2 separate regions of the Homo sapiens genome follow, and region 1 is linked to region 2. Evidence: promoter capture Hi-C in 16 types of primary human blood cells and fetal thymus (Javierre and others, 2016). All regions are on one chromosome and are shown on one strand. Each heading gives the region's core, a stretch centred on a gene start or on the middle of the fragment in contact. The rest is flanking DNA. Distances are from core to core; before and after follow the strand shown.

Evidence for each region. Contacts are between HindIII fragments. The CHiCAGO score rates a contact against its expected background, and 5 or more counts as called.
Region 1: a fragment that was not itself captured here is called in contact with the fragment with the promoter of PTCSC3 in region 2 in 1 of 17 cell types (M2 macrophages); the score reaches 5.7 in M2 macrophages.

The regions. Positions count from the first base shown.
Region 1 is chr14:36,531,341-36,534,622 of GRCh38, reverse strand. The region is part of intron 1 of LOC105370453 (a long non-coding RNA gene); the gene reads right to left. It also overlaps the pseudogene PHKBP2. Among named protein-coding and RNA genes, the nearest start is that of NKX2-1, 13 kb to the right of the region's middle. The HindIII fragment of the contact is 1,415 bases long and covers 1,188-2,602 here.
Region 2 is chr14:36,174,799-36,178,220 of GRCh38, reverse strand. PTCSC3 (papillary thyroid carcinoma susceptibility candidate 3) reads left to right here and starts at 1,499. Exons shown (of 4, transcript NR_049735.3): 1 at 1,499-1,923. The HindIII fragment of the contact is 5,859 bases long and covers 636-3,422 here.

The DNA of each region.
Region 1 (3,282 bases), core at 646-3,145, 360 kb before region 2:
CCTTGGAGGTTTCTGGAACAGAGACTTTCCAGGCCAACCATTAAGTTTAGCTTGTGATGCTTATGATTAGATTCACTAATTTGGCATTGCCAGCTCACTTGATGGAGTTATATCCTCTTTATCTAATTTCTTAAGGTCTATCTCAGTTTACGAGTCTCTTAAAATAATTAATCTTCCAAGATCTGATAATTAAACACTGTGTGGAATAAACTGGATCATTTTGAAATAACTGTCAACTCAACATTGCTGCAGTTTCAAAGTCCAACCACAGGTCTTTTTCCCATTAAATCATGTGATGCTGACCAGAATATCAAGATAAAGTACAACCTATACTGTGCTTCTAGGGCTTGGGCTTTAACTTTCACATAAAGGCTCATTAATGATGACCAGGAAGGACCCATGAGCCCAGCTTTAAAATGTATGAGAGTTGTTCCTTTCTGTTGCATGCATCAGGTTGATAAAGTCCACCAGTTTAAGCAGGACCCAGCTTAATACCTACTGAACTTTGCTTAACTTCTGTTGGAGGTTCTCCAGCCTCAACAAAATGGAAGACGTTGACTGAACAGGCATCAAATTGATAAGTCTTTTAATAGAACTTTCACTGAGTTCTGTGACCAAGCATGGCAGATTCTGCAGCAAACACTTAATAGTATCATGGTAACTAGGAATCAAATACCATAGCAACCAACCTGTGAGATACAATCATATATGAAGAGAATATAATTGGAGGAGTGTCTGGCTTCTATGAATTTCTTTCTCTTGTTTAAGATATGTTGGGAAATATTAACTAGCTAGTAATATATAGATACAGACAGATCGCTGTGGAGTTACTAATGGTTATATCCGTTATACTGAAAACAAAATTCTTAGTTGGACTTTCAAGACAAAAAGTAGATCTAGACAAACTGATGAAAGAAGCATTTCATGAATTTCAAAAATATGAGATTCAACTAAAGGAAGCTGAAAAACAAGGTGAGATGACTTACTTTAACAACAGTGTCCCCACTCCCCCAGAAAAAAGAGAAATCTATACAGCATATTTAACAAAGGTGTTGATTAATTTTCTGCTGGAAGGAGAAGCCAAGCCAAGCAATAATGATTTCTGTTTGGTTAGCTAGTGAAGCAAGTAGAAGAATCTCTTTTGAGGTATATTGTCTAGAAGTGTGTTAAGTTTTATTCTTGAAGCTTAACCAAGGCAGCCATAAATGATAGGACTGATCGTGCTTTTGAGGTATTTGCCACAACATTGGTGGAGTGATTGAATTTCTTCCACGCTATAACCAATCCAATGTTAAGAAATGCCTTTATTCAGAGGTAAAAATTTTGATGGCCATGCGAACAACAATAATAATATTCACTGAAAGATACAAATAATTTATAAATGTAAAATTCATCTCTGCATGTTTTTTTTCTTTTTTTGGGACAGAGTTTCACTCTTGTCATTCAGGCTAGAGTGCAATGGCGCCATCTCTGCTCACTGCAACCTCCGCCTCCTGAGTTCAAGCGATTCTCCTGCCTCAGCCTCCCGAGTAGCTGGGATTACAGACATGCACCATCATGCCCGGCTAATTTTTGTATTTTTAGTAGAGACAGGGTTTCGCCATGTTGGCCAGGCTGGTCTGGAACGCCTGACCTCAGGTGATCCGCCCGCCTCAGCCTCCCAAAGTGTTGGGATTACAGGAGTGAGCCACCGCGCCCGACCGATCTCTGCGTGTTTAATGATCTAATAGGGCATAAAATAAATTTGCTTTATGTTTCTGATCATTTGATATTGTCCCACAGATCACTGGGGCTGTTTTTGTTTTTAATTTTTATTCCTTCTGCTTCTCAGACTGGATAAATTCTATATTCAAGTTGGCTCTTCTGCTGTCGCCAATCTTCTTTCAGCTCATCCCAGAGATTTTTCTTTTCCATTTCAGACGCTATAGCTCTTTAGAGAATTTTCAATTCATTTTTAAAATAGCTTCCATTTCTCTGATAGAGTTCCCCAATTTGTTCAGTTATTGACATATTTTAATTTGTCTTCGAATATATATATATATATACCTCTTTAAATGTACTTTTCTGCTAATTCCAAACCTGGAGATTTGCTTCTATTGACTGCATTCTCTTCTGATTTTGGAAATTATCTTCTATGTCTTCACATGCCTAGTAATTTTTTATTTTAATCTGCCATTGTGAAAAATACATTTTAGAGTCTCTAGATTCCTCTGTTCTAGGAGTTCCCTACCTTAATCTTTCAGATATTCTTTCAGCCCCTGACTCCATCCTCTCACACTTCAAATAAAAAACACTGGATTTTTTCGCTCACCTTCTATTTGCCCTGTGCTCTGTGGTATGAGTATTGTCCTCAGTAGAATATCCTTGTAAGTTTAATTCTTACCCAGTGAGTAGTTCCATTTATGACTAGAAACTTCTTCAGTTTCTTTCTTCTTTTGACCACTTTCTGGTGCCTTCAAATAATTGTGTGTGTGTTTGTGTGTGTGTGTGTGTGTATTGTCCAGAGTTTATCATTATTATCTGAAAAAGGCATAGTCAGATAATGTACTTTTTATTACTGGACTCAGAACACCCATTCAAGAATATACACTTAAAACAAGCTTTTTGGGTTATACTTATGCACTCCAAAGTTTGACAGGTGCTGTCTTAGATTAAACTTCCATGCTTAACTTTGTCTTTTGAGAAGTCATCTTCCTCACTACGAACAAGAATTTAAACTCTTCAGGTTCATTAATCACACTCCCTGAAATCTAAAATAAAGTCATATAAACTTGGTAAATATACTCTTACCCACAGTGTTTTCCTTATTACTACATTTTTCCAAAAGGACTGGAAACTATTTGTTGAAAATTAGAGAAGCATTGAATATAGTGGAAATAATACAGTGTGGTTCCATAACAATTAGTTGTTACGTTTAAAATATGACACTCCTTAAGGTAAAATTTAATAATACCAAAAGTACCCTAGAAAACTGATGAAATGGTAACAAAATTTGAGATTATACTTTGATAGAATAATTTTTGTCCACATTAAAGTTTGACATCTACGGAGCTAGACAAGGGAGTAATACAAAGAAACTCCCCAAGCAGATGAGTAGATATTTGAACTATCTTGCTGTCAAAATAACTATAAAATTTCAAGATGTTGAATGGGGGATAGGTAGACAATTCTTTAAAGGTCTGATTATTTAGGCAATGACTCCTCTTGTGGTTTGGAATATGACATGTTGACAATCAAAACTTAGTTCTACTACTTACTAGCCATGTGATCTTCAGCAATTTA
Region 2 (3,422 bases), core at 250-2,749:
CCAGCCTTGTCTTGAACTCCTGGCTTCAAGAGATCCTCCTGCCTTTGCCTCCTAAAGGACTGGGTTACAGGTATGAGCCACCAGACCTTGCCTTATTTTCCAGGTTTTGAGAAGCTACAAGTGAGATAATTATTGCTGCCTGTCTAACCTATTCTCTTCCACACATTGCGGAGGTCACTGGAAGAAACAGTAAATCACAAACTCTTTTTCTTCTATCCATAACTTTTCCTGCCTCATTTAGAATTACCACTCTTGACAACAGGACCCCCCATTTTTGTCTATCACCTTATTAAATCTTCTGTCAAATTGCTTTATTTAAAACATTTTGCAAACTTAGAGAAACTCTGGTTATAACTAAAAATTGTAAGCTGACAGTCATTTTAACTGGTTGCTCTAAGAGGGTGGCAGAATTCCTCTTAAAGAGCAAACTGCTCTTTTGTTGGGAAAGCATTCAGTGGGCTTTTCTGAGTGTGGGGGTGGACCCCAGGAGAGTCTGGGTAGGAGAGGGTCAGCCTGAAAGAGAGCCAAGTTTCTCTGCACCATCAAGTCACAGGAATTTTGGAGTGGGTTCCACCCACCACTGCAGGGCTGAGGAAGGTCAGACCATGAGAGAGAGACATTGAAAACAAAAAGCTTTCTTAGAGTCCAGGGAGCAGGCCCCAGAAATACCCAGTTGAGAGTGCCACCAGTAAGGACTCCTCGAGGGGGAGACTTCAGAAAACTTTAGCAATAGTGTGACCAGGATTCAATTTTAAGTCAGTCCATGTTTTGTGCTATCATTCCTCTACATTGCTCATATAAAACAAGAAAATACAATAACACACTGCTAATCACAAGAGCATTATCATGAAGAAAAGGGTGGTGAGTCCATATTTTGAAGCAAAGCAAACTAGAATGGGCTGGGGCAGCCTGGAAAGGCAGTGGGCAGATGGAGGGAAGAAATTGAAAAAGTCAGGAGCAAGAGAAAAATGGGAAGAACCAAGTCTCAACTCTAGAATCTGCTGGAAAATTGAAGAACACGTTAGACTTCCCACAATTTAGGGGATGGCTGTTAAAGAAAAGGATGGCCTCAGAAGGACAGAAGAGTTAAGGACTTTGGGGTTTTATGGATAATCCTTATATGAAACATTACATGTTTTTTTCACTGCTTAAACAACAGACTTCAGCAATGATGTATGTCAGAGAAATGGGCACAGAAAGTGAGGAAGGACTGTGTGCCTGCAGTTTGTCCCATTAAATTGTGGCAATGAAGGCAGGAAGCCTCGTGTATATTCACATATAATAGTAATAAGAAAAAGATCAACAGAAAGTGATTATGCAACATTCAACATTTTTGCGGTACCCAAAGACTTCATTGAGTTGATTCATCTTAATATTGTCATTTTGATACAAAATATCTTTGCAGGATATTTGTAGGCACAGCTACCCCAAATCCCATTTGCATTAATCTAAAACAGACTTGCAGGCCCAGTTCCAGAAATTCCTTGGGCAAGTCCATAACGCACATTCACCGTCAGGCATGAAGGAATAGCTTATCCAGCAGAAATATCGGAGGCCAGGCCCCAGTACAAACTCCTTCAGACTTCTCAGTACTCAAGACATCTCAAGTTTTTGAAGAGTAAAGTATAAAATACTGGCAGGGGTGGGTAGGGGGAACAGGATAAATTGGTGATGGCCCAGAAAAAATATCCAGGGGGATCGCATTTTTCTTCTCCAAAGCAAAACAGAATTCATAACTGAAAGAGGAATAGAGAAAGAGGAAAAAAGTGATCTGGGACCTGTTGTTTTTCTTGCATCCCATTTCTACTCTGCCTGTGAGTGAAGACTGTTGTGGAAAAGTCAACTGGAGAGACCAGGTCAAAGGCCAAGCAGAAGAGGAATTAGGCTTAAGACTGCACTGAGAGGGAACACTAGACCATGGTGGTAAGTGTTCTTGTTGCATCTGTTGGTCTTTCATTAAATAATGGCATTTCAGCTGGGTTGTAGCCTCCTTAGCTCTCACTCATTGCATCTTTGATGTTTCACCCAAAGGTATAATTATATTGCATTAGTATACTGTTTTGGCCTCTGAAAACCTTAATATTGCTCTCTGGAGAAAGGACAGTTTAATCACTCACATGACATTATGTACATATGTATGTATTTGTATCGTTTTCTTAACTGAAAGTCCTTCTCCCACCTCCTTGACACTCCCAAACTGCTATTTGCTACCCACATTTGTCTTCTGTTGTTGGTTCTTTTCTTTCTACATGAATTTAATACACTTATGGGAATAAAGCTCTTTCTGAAATTGGGAGAAGCCCTCCCAAGTTGTCATCCCAGTTGCCAACTTGGAAACCTGTTTAATTCTGGAAGAAAACCACAACAATCATGTCTCATTTTGGAAAGTATCTTTCAGAGGACATAATCAAAGCAAATTACAAATACAAATTTCTAACTAGGTTTTCTTAGTGTTCAATGAAGTTACTCCAGTGATCCCAAAGACAAGTTAAATATAGCTGTAGGCCCAAGATCATAGAGTTAATTGGTAGATAAGTCATAACTCTAAGGAGTGGGTTCTTCCTCCTTTCTTTCTGTATCCAGCAAATGACTTAATAATTTATAAAACTACATGCTTCTGTCGGGCATATCGGGCATTTTGCTAGGCATAGCCTATATGATTTTAAGCCACATGAACTTTTGAGTTTTTGCAACTGGCTGGGACCTATTTTATGACATTTCATAGAAAGTGCTGTGGTTCTTATGTTCTTCCCAACGTGGAAATGTGATTTCAGGTAGGGTTGAAATCAAGATACTGACTCCTGAACTTCCATCTCTAACCATAATGGGATGACTGATACTGTACTAGCCCAAAACTACTCTAAAACGGGACAGAATATGTGAAGCATCCGATTTCAGGCAGTGGATAACAAGCACTGTAAGGCTGTGCTCCTTGAGAGAAGGGAAGTGCATGAGGTAAGCTACATGATTGCCTCAGCTCTGTGCCTGGAGACAATTTCCTGACCATGGTACAGAGACCTGGAGTCTGAGCAGAGCATGGCAGTCCTGTTGAGCTGGGGAGGCAGACATCAGCGTTCAGGGTAACTGAAGCAAGTAGAAACTATGGAGCCTGAATGGAGGGAGCTATGTAGAGAGAGAGGACCCCAGAATCCAGCAGGGATCTCCTGCAAATCAGTGACTGAGAGTTGGATTGTACATGTGCAGTGTGAGGCGACCCGAGCTTTACTAGATGTCAGATGCTATGCAGTTGAAAGTGGAACCAAGATTCTAGAGGTTGAGCAGTGCTTGGGGAAAAGCAGTGGCAGAGATGTCAGAGTTCTGGCCCTGCCAGAGAGGAGAGATTTATTAACATCTTGTTAAAACTCCTGACATCCAGCTCTGAGACACCACAAAGTGCACATATTAGGATTAAGGAATATGCC